Linked DNA regions of Homo sapiens: region 1 is linked to region 2. The links are contacts of gene promoters, found by promoter capture Hi-C in blood cells and fetal thymus (Javierre and others, 2016). All regions are on one chromosome and are shown on one strand. The core of a region is centred on a gene start or on the middle of the fragment in contact, and the rest is flanking DNA. Distances in the headings are between cores, read along the strand shown.

Evidence for each region. The method cuts DNA at HindIII sites, captures the fragments that hold promoters and counts their contacts. A CHiCAGO score of 5 or more calls a contact.
Region 1: the fragment with the promoter of SETD1A here is called in contact with a fragment that was not itself captured in region 2 in 1 of 17 cell types (activated CD4 T cells); the score reaches 5.3 in activated CD4 T cells.

Annotation. Positions count from the first base shown.
Region 1 is chr16:30,956,405-30,962,399 of GRCh38, reverse strand. It overlaps SETD1A (SET domain containing 1A, histone lysine methyltransferase), which reads right to left and starts at 4,646. Exons shown (of 19, transcript NM_014712.3): 1 at 4,436-4,646; 2 at 3,519-3,683; 3 at 3,214-3,309; 4 at 863-1,133. The coding sequence starts at 3,668. RefSeq lists silencers at 3,938-4,027, 4,168-4,387 and enhancers at 4,988-5,117, 4,575-5,338. The HindIII fragment of the contact is 14,721 bases long and covers 1-5,995 here.
Region 2 is chr16:31,848,955-31,855,028 of GRCh38, reverse strand. No RefSeq gene overlaps it. Among named protein-coding and RNA genes, the nearest start is that of ZNF267, 22 kb to the left of the region's middle. The HindIII fragment of the contact is 1,077 bases long and covers 832-1,908 here.

The DNA.
Region 1 (5,995 bases), core at 3,397-5,896, 900 kb after region 2:
GGGTTATAGAATAGCATATAGAAAGATTAAAAAGAGGCCAGGCATGGTGGCTCATGCCTGTAATACCAGTACTTTGGGAGGCCGAGGCAGGCAGATCACTTGAGGTCAGGAGTTCAAGACCAGCCTGGCTAACAGGGTGAAACCCTATCTCTACTAAAAATACAAAAATTAGCCGGGCGTAGTGGCGCATAAATGTAATCCTAGCTACTCAAGAGGCTGAGGCAGAAGAATCACTTGAACCTGGGAGGTGGAGGTTGCAGTGAGCCAAGATCGTGCCACTGCACTCCAGCCTGGGCGACAGATTGAGATTCCATCTCAAAAAAAAAAAAAAAAAATTAAAAACAGGCTGGGCAGTGTAGTGAGACTTCATCTCTGCAAATAATCAAAAAAACTTTGGCCAGGTGTGGTGGTGCATGCCCATAATCCCAGCTACTCAGGAGGCTGGGGTGGCTGAGCCCAGGAGCTGGAGGCTGCAGTGAGGAAAGATCACGCCACTGCTCTCCAGCCTAGGTGACAGAGCAGGATCCTGTCTCAAAAACCAACCAAGCAACCAACCTGACCTGGGCTGATTTACTACAATCTATTCATCTTACCTAGTACAACCCTTCATATGATTTTTTTTTTTTTTTACAGATAGTTATGTGCTTGATTATGGCCTATTGCCCGACCTTGCTGGAGACACCACACACACAAAAATCCATGTACCATAATTCCACTCTAAAATCTGATCTGATTTCAGAAACACAACTGGCCCCAGCAGTTTCAGATCATGACCCTGGGCGCCTGCCTGACCCTGACAGGCATTTGCATGTACAACCTCCGCTGGAGGCCAAGCCTGAGTGGCAGGCAGAGGAGTCCTCACCTTTGATGTCAAGCTGGGCATGGATGATGTTGCCCATGACGGAGGTAAGGTGGAGGTTTTTGACCGTTTCCTTGGCGCCCCGAGTGCTGGTGAAGAGCACACGGGCCAGGCCCAGGTGCTTGCGCGTACGGGGGTGAAGGAGGATCTCTACCTCTTCCACCTCACCGTACTTACGGCACATATCCTTCAGGAAGGTCTCCCGCACGTTGTCATTCAGCCTTGCAAAAGTCACTTCCTTCAGTGGAATCTGTCCAATATAGAACTCGTCCAGCTGGGGAAAGAACAGGAGTTGGTATGGGGTCTCAACACTGACCACTGTTCCTTTGTCCTTCGGGAAACTTTAGCAAGCTCCATGAAGTCAAGAGAGAGATCCGGGAAAGTGAGGGGCAAGGGAAGGGGCCCAAAATAAGGGATCCATCAGACCTGACCCCTTTTCCCTGAATTCTTCTCACCACAGAATAACAGCAAGAATTAAGAACAGAAATGTGCAAACTAGGCCGGGTGTGGCAGCTCACACTTATAATCCCAACACTTTGGGAGGATGAGGTGGACGGATCACCAGAAGTCAGGAGTTCAAGACCAGCCTGTCCAACATGATAAAACCCTGTCTCTACTAAAAATACAAAAAAAAAAATTTAGCTGGATGTGATGGTGGGCACCTGTAATCCCAGCTACTCAGGAGGGTGAGGCAGGAGAATCACTTGAACCTGGCAGGCAGAGGTTGCACTAAGCCGAGATCACACCACTGCACTCCAGCCTGGGCAACACAGCGAGACTCCGTCTCAAAAAAAAAAAAAAAAAAAAAAAGAAAGAAAGAAAGAAATGTACACACTGAGGAATAAATATACGTGGAGAGAACGAGCTACAGGGCGATGATTTCCTAGCTCAGCCTTTACTAGGTAACTACCATGAACGAGGCACTGGAAATACAGAGATAGAAAGGAAGAGATTCCCATACAGAAAAGCAGCATGACATGCACATACAAACACAACACGACCCAGTGGCAGCTGACGCATACATGGTGTTCTGGAGCCCAGGGAAGGAAACTTTTGTACAGAGTATGATCAGGGAAGAATTCATAAAGATGGTGTCATTCTTACTGAGATTTGGGGATTAACAATTCATCAAATGACAAGGACCCCTGGAACATGGAAATATAAAACAACTTGGTGTTTTTGAAAAACCGCAAAGCGTTATGGTGTGGATGTAACACAGGGGTGTGGTGTCAAGGCGGAGGATAAGGCTTGGCCAGGTCAATAACCATACATGTCAGTGTCCCAAAACATGGACTTGGCAACAAAAGGAAAACAGCAGCGTAGTGAAGCCAAAGAGACAAATGACAGCAAGGCAGAGGAGAAACTGAGGCAAGAACGAAGGCAAGGAGACCAGGTGAAATGAATACCAAGGTCTACATTAAGTGGCAATGAGAATAGAAAGATGAAGAATAAAAAAGAAAAGAGCCAGGAGGATTCGGTGACCAACTGAGAGAGAAAAGGAGAGAATCACAGGCTGCCAGGCTGTACAGCTGAGTCGATGGTACTGCCACATATGAGTAGAGGGAAAATGAAAAAGGTAGGTTAAGGAGGTAGATAATTTGTTTTAAATCCCTTAAATCTGAAACATGTGTGGCCTCCAAATGAAACTGTCCCCCTACCAGGCATACAAGCCTAGAGATGTTGGCTGGAAACAGATACTTGGAAGTCATCAACATTTAGGTAATAGTTGAAGCTGTGGGTGTGAAAGAGATTGTCCAAGTGAAGTGTACAAAGTAAAAAAAAAAAAAAGAAGAAGAAGAATGAAGGGACCCCACAAACAATTTATTTAGAAAGGAAGAATAAAGAATCAGAGAAGGAAATGAAGAACCACCAGTGTTCCAGGCCCAGTTCAAGGCCTGAAGAATATCTTGTCTAGGGTGGAGAATAGGAGTCCTCGAAGGAAACAAGAGGGAAATGACATCGCCAAATGAGAGGCGGGGAATAGTGCTACCCAGGTAGGCAGTGGCCTTGTCACTCCCCTTGACTGTCAAGGAACTGGGAGATCCCACTCTTGTGTGCTATGATGCACTGTCTACGAATATACAGTGATAGGTATAGCAGCTAAAGAGTCTTTACCTCACCCTTCAAGAAGTCGACACCCCAGCCACCAGGGATACACTTAGGACACCTGACCTGCACCTTTCTGGAAGATTAAGTGTACCTCCTATCCAAAACAACTGAGTCTCACAGCCTCAGAGGTTGCTAGATCTGGCTGAGATCCTTTCATTGGAAACCCTTTTATTCAGCTATAGTGCCAAGACGCATCCTCCACACCCTCTTAGGACTACCACACCAGGAGCCCAGCAGACACTTACCTTAAACTTAGGGACTGGGAGGGAAAAGTCTCTGTTTTTGGACCTGACATGGCAACGGGGGTCTTGGAGGTCTTCGACTGGTATATACTTTGAGTCCTAGGAAGGAAAGCAGCAGCAGAAAGAGAGCTCAGGGTGAATCCAGGCTAGGGAGCTCCAAGCAGCCCATCTGGACACACACATGCAGAAGAGCTGGGTCCAACTGCCCACTTTCAAGAAGGCAGGCTACCGTTCTAGGTGCTGAACAGAATCACAGAGGACGGGCGCCTGGAGCTCCCCGGATGGCAACCAAAGACCCGGGCACTCACGTTGACACTGAAGTGGACTCCATCATAGCGGTACACCTTCTGAGAAGGCCTGCGCAGGGCAGGGTCCAAGGCAGGATCCACGATGAGCTTGTAGTTCCGCCACTGGAAGCTCGGGGCCTTCTGCCCATCTCCCCCACCTTCCTGATCCATCTTTGCTCATTTACACTGTTAGGGGAAGAGGGACACGCAAGAAGGATCAGGACTTGGGGCCTGACTCCCCTGCCTTTCCTCATTGGCTAGCCCCGATTCCAGGTTCTCCCATCACTCCAGTTTCCAACCCTCACCCTGACCCGGGGCTCCCCCGGATTCTCCCCCAAGTACCCTCTGTTTCGCCACAACAACCCAGCCTCTTTCCACCTCCCAACTCTACTGTCAGGCCCCCAGGCCCGTCTCGAGCCCCCTTACCTTCCCGCTCTCCCTAGCGCGCGCCCCACTTGGCCTCGGAGCAAGACCCCTCCCCCGCCCCCTGCAGGCCCCGCCCCCTCCCGCCTCCTCACCGGCCAGCGGCCCGGGCCGAGCCCGGCCACGGCTCCCACACACCCGCTCTCCTCCCCGCGCCCCGATCCTCCGGCCGAAAGGTGGCACCTCTTCGGGGCGTTGGAAACACCGCGAGACCGAGCCCGAGACCCGGCTTCGACCCCGAATCCGGGCGGGGGGGTGGGGGGAACGTGCACCGCTGCCCTCTCCTCCCGCCCCGGCGCGTTCTGCACCCCCCCCAGCAGGTCTCCGCGCACGCGCGCCGCGCGGCCCCACTCACCCGCTCCCGGCGAGCGGCTCCCCCTCCCCCCACCTCGCGCGGCACCTCAGCGGCGCGAGGCGGCGGCAGCGGCAGCGCGAGACCCGGCCCCGCAGCGGTGGCGGCGGCGGCGCCCCCCCACCACCACCTCCCCGGCGCGCGCACCAAACACCACTGCCACCTGCGCGAGGCCCAGCGGGCACAGGGTCTGCATTCGCACTTTCGCCACAGGCGCTGCCGGGGGACCCACGGGGCCGAGGGTAGCGGCTTCGCCTCGGCCGGCGCCCTGGGAGGCTCGGAAGTTGCGGCCCAGGGAGCTTGGAGATTGGCCGCATCCCCCGGAGAGTCGGCTTCGCCACGACGATCTAGATGCTGCGGCCCGGGACCTTGACGAATCGGCGGCGACGAAAGCTGCGACTAGTCCCTGAGGAAAAGGGGCGGGGCGGAGGGGAGGAGGCCAGCCAGCGCTGGGGAACCTTCAGTGGCGCGTTCTGCAGACGCAGATTCACCGGGCGGGCGGGGCGAATCGCTGGACAGGATGCGCGCCGCTTTGCTTCTCTTCCCCGTCCCTTCCTTGCACTGCCAAATTCTGAGAGGCTGCAGATTCGCCACTGTTCCCGGCCTCAGCCGTAGCCTCCCCTTCATCCGCCTTGGTGGAGTCAAGAAAATAACGGCCCGTTAGCCAATCCCTGCTGGCAGAGTCGACAACTTTTTTTGGATTTTTCTTACTGGCCCAAGTGAGAGAATAGCCCGCTTCTGTCCCTGGGGAAAATGCCTCCAGCCCAGCGCTCCTCTCAGAGTCCGATGAGAATTTTCAGCCGAGTATCGAGGGACCCGAGGAATTCTGAGGATCCGACCTGGCGAATCTGCGGATTCCGCTGTGGGCGGGGCCGAGTCAAGGGGCGGGGCCAGGGCGTGCAGAGCCTGGGACTAGGGGGCGCCTCCGGGAGGACCCACGAGGACTCACCCGGATGGGAGGGACGGCCGGGAGGTGGAAAAACACAACCGTGAGCGGTGACTCAGGCGGTTTGCCCCGCCTCGCACATAAATGCAGGGTACCTTTCCTTCCCGTTATTGCCCTTGGGTGTCTGGCTGCTTAGGATGCCCATTTGCCAGATGGGGAGAGTGAGGCCTGTAGAAGGTGCCCTACTTTGCCGTACTCAAACCCACCATTAGTGGTTAAATCCAGGGACCGCCTCAAGGTTTTCTGATGAGCCTAGTGGGGCCTAAGTGCCCTTAAATGGGCCTTGTAATAATAAACGAGGTCCTACAGGAACGGGACTGGACTGGTGTGTCCTCCTGGCGTCATGGTCCCACTGCCCGCTTCTTTGGCTATGGCGCCCTATGCTCACGGGATGCCTCCGCACAAGGGCAGCAGCGGCCCAGGCCTACCCCTGGAACTCGGGCTGAGGTTTCTGAAGGCTGGGCACCGTTTTGATCCCGTGTGGGCGCAGGCACTCCCAGGAGGTCCCTTTTCCTGAGCTGAGGATGCCCCAAGCTCCTGATATGTGTACATCAGGCCCTCGCTATATGGCCTTGGGCAAGTCATTGACCTAAGTTTCAGAGTCTTCCTTTAAACTTGGATGTCAATTTGTACACATCCGAACAGTGCAGAAAAGACCCTTAGAGCCTGGTTTATGCAAATTCACCATTTTAAGTAATAGGAAAAGGTGGAAGGGAGACTTATCCAAGGTCTCACACCACAAGATAGAAGAAGATTAGGACTCTACAATTTTGAGGG
Region 2 (6,074 bases), core at 121-2,620:
ACTCACAGTGTTTGTGGTGGCTGCAATGGGCTGAATCAGACAGTCCCTAGAGCCTTAGGTGACACATGAGTGTGGATGCTGGTGGTTGTCTGGGTGGGCCCATCCTTAGGACCCCAAGAGTACCCAGATGACAGCAGTGGTGGATGGCATGGGAGATTCCTAGACCTTTAGACAGCATGCTTGAGTGCTGGCTGCACATTTTCTTGGCCTGTTTTTAGGACCCTGGTGGACTCATGCCAGAGGCTACCACCTGTACAATGCTGTCCTCAGGTCCACAAGTGGAATATTTGACCACTAAGGGTGGGAGAGAGGCAGGTGAGGTGGGCCTGTTCTCAAGTCCTCCTAGTGATGCACATGAGCATAGGCTGTGGGCAGGGCAGGGGAAGTCCCAGACCTCTGGAGCTCATGCTAGGGCACCAGTGATGGCAGGCCTTCTGGAGCTGTTATTAGGCCCCTGGGAGATGGGTGCACCAAAATCTCAGAAATCGCCACTAAAGAATTTATTCATGTGCAAATAAATAAATAAATAAATAAATTCACTTACACTGTCTTATAATTATGTAATTAGTTTTGCTAGTGTGTGCTTTGTCTTTCTTATGCATTCAAATTATTGTCTGGATTTACTTGCTTTCAGCCTGAAAAACTTCTTTTGCCATTTTTTCATAAGGTCAGTTGGCTAGCAACAAATTGTATCAGTTTTTATTTACATAAAATGTTTTTATTTAACCTTCATTTTTAATAGCTAGTTTTTGTGGGTATAGGGTTCTTATTAGGCAGGCTTTTTCTGTGAGCATCAGACAAAATAATTTATAAAGAAGTAATTGAAAAGCTTCAGAGAAGGAAAATAAATCAAGACCTAAGGACACTGACTGGATTGAGCACCAACGTCATAGTGATGGCAGCTGGGTTTAAGATGACAGGGAGAATTGTCACTGAAGACAGTAGAAGTCTGGGGATCAAGTGGTCCTGACTGCAGCTGAATGGAAAGTTTATTTTGTATTTTATTTTATTTTAATTTTTGAGACAGAATCTCGCTCTGTTGCCCAGCCTAGAGTGCAGTGGCCCGATCTCAGCTCACTGCAACCTCTGCCTCCTGGGTTTGAGTGATTCTTCTGCCTCAGCTTCCTGAATAGCTGGGATTCCAGGTGCCTGCCATGATGCCTGGCTAATTTCCGTGTTTTTAGTAGAGACGGGGTTTCACCGTATTGGCCAGCTGGTCTCAAACTCCTGACCTGAAGTGATCCGCCTGCCTTGGCCTCCCAAAGGGCTGGGATTGCAGGCATGAGCCACCGTGCCCGGCCTGGAGAGTTTATTTGTTAGAGCCTCAGATATGGCACATGAGAGGTACACCAGCATGAACTCAAACATATTCAGAACTGGTGCCTTGGGGGAAAATCTATAGATTAAGTGCATGAGAAGTCACCACTTCAGTATCAGATGATGTTTGATTAAGAAAGTGTAACTCCAAATGTGGCAATCATGATCAAGGTTAAAGTTAGCACTAGTTATAACATAGGTGTGGTTGGTGGTGTCTCAGAAGCAAATAAAAGTTGTCAGTTGCTAAGAATGTGTTAATCATTTTATTCCACATGCTCTCATGCTGACTGTGTAGTTAAACATCCCTGTAAGTAGAAACAACTTCACTGTAAGCGCTATGTAAGCCTGGTGCAGGGGGCATTTTCTTCATTCCCAAAAAAGTTTTACATAGACTACCTGTAATATTGAAACGTAGGGACAACTGGGGACCATGTGTGAAGGCCCCCAGAAATTTCTTCAGTTAGCAAGGATGTTTGGTAAAGCAACACAGAAATTAAACAAAGTTTGAAACTATAGTTATTGCTTCTACTTTATTGGCAATAACTGAGACCAGACAACCCTCCTGGGCAAAATTACCTAAGAAAACAAGCTTGCACACGTTAAAGTTTGAAACCCATCTGTCCTACACTGATCTTTTCCAGGAATTAAATGTGTTCAGTTTTTCCTTTTGTTGCTCCCCTTTCCAATAATCTCGAGGCCAGGGCTGTCCTGCTTCTACAGGTGACATGACAGTTATGGGCCTGGAGGGAGACGAGCTGACAGTATCCCTTCTTTATAACCAAGTCTCAGGGACCACCATCCACACACACAGACTCACTCCAGGACTCCGCTGGGCAAATGGATGTTTCTCAGCTTTAGTAAAAGTGAGTGATCACGACTTACGTTGGTAGTGGCAGGAGGATTTTCTCAATGATGTAGATAACTCTCTCATAATTTTGTTCTTGTGTCTCACTGAATTATAACTATTTTCAGATAAAAATATAAATTTTAATATCATGAGCACATAAATTTACAGATGTTCGAAAGGATATTTGTAATTTTGTAATGGTATATGTTATAGGTAAGACGTTTATTTAGAAACAGAATGCTTGTTTTTCGGTCATGTAAGGAAAAATTAGCATTTAGACAAAAAGGTTTTTTTAGCAAGGAAATTTTACTTTCTGCAGAAAGGGTGCTCCTTGCAGATGGAACAATGGCAAGAGCACATTTGAACAAGGGAGGGAAGCAATTTTTATTTTTTATGTAGCTTGTCCCTGCTCTTGTGTCCTGTTTTTATTGGCTGGAGACAGACTTCATAATTTAAATTAAAACCTGATTGGCTAATAACTTAAAATTTTTTAAACAGGTAAAAGCAATGGAAAGATAAATGAAAAGAGGAAGTTGTTTATGAAAGGACTTAGAAAAGTAATAACATTCCTAAATAAGGAAGTGACAGGCTGTGAGCTGGGACATGCCTGTGAGCACATCCAGGACAGGTATTTCCGTTAAGGCACAAGGACATAGAATGTACTATGTGCCTGTGAGCATGTTTAACAGCTACATAGGATAGGGCTTAAACAAAGAGTTATTAGCACAAAGTAAGGAGGCTTGAAAGAAATTAGTCTTTAAAAGAAACTATTATTTCTAACACTTATTTATCCTGTAACAAGAATGGAAACTTTGAAGAGGAAACTTTTTACTTTCTGCAATTCCTTCCTTTTGATTTTATAGCTTTTTTTCTTTAAAATTTTTTAACATGTTTTGGTTTAGCTGTTTTGCTTGAGTTTTTAAAAGAAAAAGTTTTTCTGGTTGGTGAAATGCCACGGTAAAAGGGATAGCCAATTGAACTAGAGCACAAATATTGCTTTAATTATTTGGCAGAGTGTTCAGTAAAGGTCTTCTACAATATTATTACATACCTGTTTGGTGATGAATAAGGGGGGATTGATGGGTCAGCTCTTGGAAGTGCCTGACTTCACTGCATTAAGTTTTCAAGGAACACTAAATTTTTCCCTTGTTGTTGGAGACACCAGGTAAAATTGGTCTTGGAAGATGGAGGCTAGATGGCCCTCGGGGGCTGACCCGCAGGGTACTGCATTTTAGGAAATAGTAGCGAGAGCGTTTGACACAGTTTATTATCTCAGGCTGTAGGATTTTGAAAAGGAGCTACCATGTAGTCCATGTTTTGTTGATTAGAGGACTATTTGAGTGGAAAGGGGACAACCTGGGCCTCTAGCCTACCATGCACACGTGTTTAACGGTCACTTTTATTTAGATGCAGATGAAATATTTAATTTATTTTAACCAGCCATTTACATTTTGATATCCTGTTTTAATTGTTATTGTTTGCTTTAGGTTTTTTATTTTTACTGTAGAGACTTTGGTCTTGTTTTTGTGTCTGGGAGGAGTGATAACTAAACAGGCATTAAAAGTAGTAACTTGAGGTGAGTTAGATTTAGTTATATTAATAAGATAGGAAGTAGTTAAAGGGAAGAAAAGAAAAAAGATAGATAGATTACGTTTTTATAGCTTTAACTTGGTAGGGCTTAACCCTGGAACAACGGCCTATGACTTTGACGGTGATGACGCTTTTTTGACTCGGGTATGTGGTGTTCATTCTCTTCTGCTGTGGGAACCGCAGTCTTGGTGGGTTAGCAGCACAAGGTAGGGTTTTTCTTAGGCTGGCTTGAGTTTTTCTTCTTTTTATCCTTTGATAAGGACATGGTTTCCAGGCTGGTGCTGGTTTACTGGAAATTTTAAGAGTGGCACCTGTGCTAGAAGACTTTTAGTTTTGAGGAAAAGGAAAGTGGAAAATAAGTATGTAATTTTTGAGAAACTGATTTTTTTGTTGTTGTTTTAAATGTGCGGATATCAGCCGTGGAATGTAAGTAAGGCAACCTATAGGTAGTTTTTGACTTAAATTTCCTTTTTTAATTTTTACTTATGTTGTTTTTGAGGGAAAATTTGGGGTCCCTCAGAAAGTTAGAACTTTGCATATCCTGGGGCCCGAAGCCCCACGGTGACGCCTCCCGCTTCATTCCCGTTCAATGTAGCCTAGGGGATGCTGTGGCCCTGGCCCCTCTTAAGGTCCCGGCTTCCCTGCGGCCTTTACTGCTACCATGCATTGCGGCCTTGTGGGGATGAGGGTCCTTGTGACTTACCGCACTGCCCCCAGACCTTGCTCCTGCCAGAGACCCCACTGTCTAGCCCCTGGCCTTGGGCTGGGCTGGGCTGTGCTGTCTGACAGTTGTTTGGCCCCCTCCCTTGCACCTGTAGTGTTTGTCCCCCCCACGCCCTCGCAGGCTCTCACTGCAGCCTCTGTAGGAGCCGCTGGAGGTGGAAACTTGTTGGTATTAAACCTGTGCTGGAGAGCCCCAGTGGGTTTTTTGATGCAGTTGGAACAAGATTTTTTTAATAAGGGGTTTGGATAACATTTTTTTAATTTTGGTTTAGCAATATTTATTTTCCTTCTGAATTTTCTTTAGCATCTATTTAAAAAATGTTAATGTAGGTAAAAATTCACATTCTTATGTTTTCTTATAATTTTTTTCTAAAAGTATATTTTACTTTCCTTATATACCTTGCACACAAGTTGCTTCTTTAATAGTTTTACATTTAGGAGGCTTAATTATTTTTAAATTATATAATTTTTTGCATAAATTCCCTTTTATAAAATTTTTTAGGACTTTTACAATTTTTGACATGCCTTAACTTTTAGATAAACTTTTAGACTTTTTTTACACTATTTTTTCCCTAGTTTTATTTTTTGTGTTTTTTTATCTTTGTTTTTTCCAGTCTTTTTTTTTTTTTACTTATTTTTTCCTTCTATCTCTCTCCTTCATTTGCGTTTTCTCCTTCTCTCTGTCACCTCCTGTTTCCTCTTTCTCTCACACTTACTTGTTGGGTGGGATCTTCATGGCTGCAGTCCGTGCCCTGGGCCACTGTCAGCCTAGAGGCTCAGCAGATGCCTGCCATAAGTTGCATGAGTTATTAACCCTGGGCCAGAGGGTCCCCTTGTTTTTCCTCCTTACTTTTATATCCACAGCCCTTACACCATTTATTTTTACCTTCTCCTTTAAAGTACTGACCTTGCCTTCTTTCTTTTTGCATTCCTGAATTCCCTGACTTTTTCCTTTTACCTCTTTTAGAAAACTTTGGAACTTGCCAACAGATTTTTGCTTTTTGTATCTGCCCTTCTCTTTCTCTGTCTGCTGGTCTTTCCCTGCCTCTGCCAGCTGCCCATGCTGCTATTTTCCCCTCTCTTTCCCCTTCCCCTAGGGAGCAGCCAGTGGGTGTGGAGCTTAGCGTTTTTCTTCCCCCAAGAAGAAGGGAAAGGGAAGTTTTGAATATATTTGTTTACTACCGGAGGTTTGTGTGATCTTTAATCTCCCCCAATGGGGATTTTTCACCCCTTTTTTTAACCTCTAAGACAACCCAACTAAGGATTTTTTCACCGCCCCCCAGCCCCGCAGCTTTTCTTTCCTCTGTCTTGACTAAGGCATGCTTTACCGCCCCTGCAATTTCTTTTACCTTGGTGTGCTTTAACCAAGGAATGCTTTACCACCCCACGGCTTTTTTTCCTTAGTTCTGACCACCAAGGAAATACTTTAACTGCTCCTCCAGTGTTTTCGTTGTTTGGCTCATGCACAAGGTCGCCCAGTCTACATGGTATGTAAGGATCCTTTACTCCAGGTTGCCAACTGGTTTCTTTCTGCACTGCTGAGAGTCTGGGTTTATTTGTCATGCTGGGTGGGTTTTGATTCCTTACCCATAAGGCC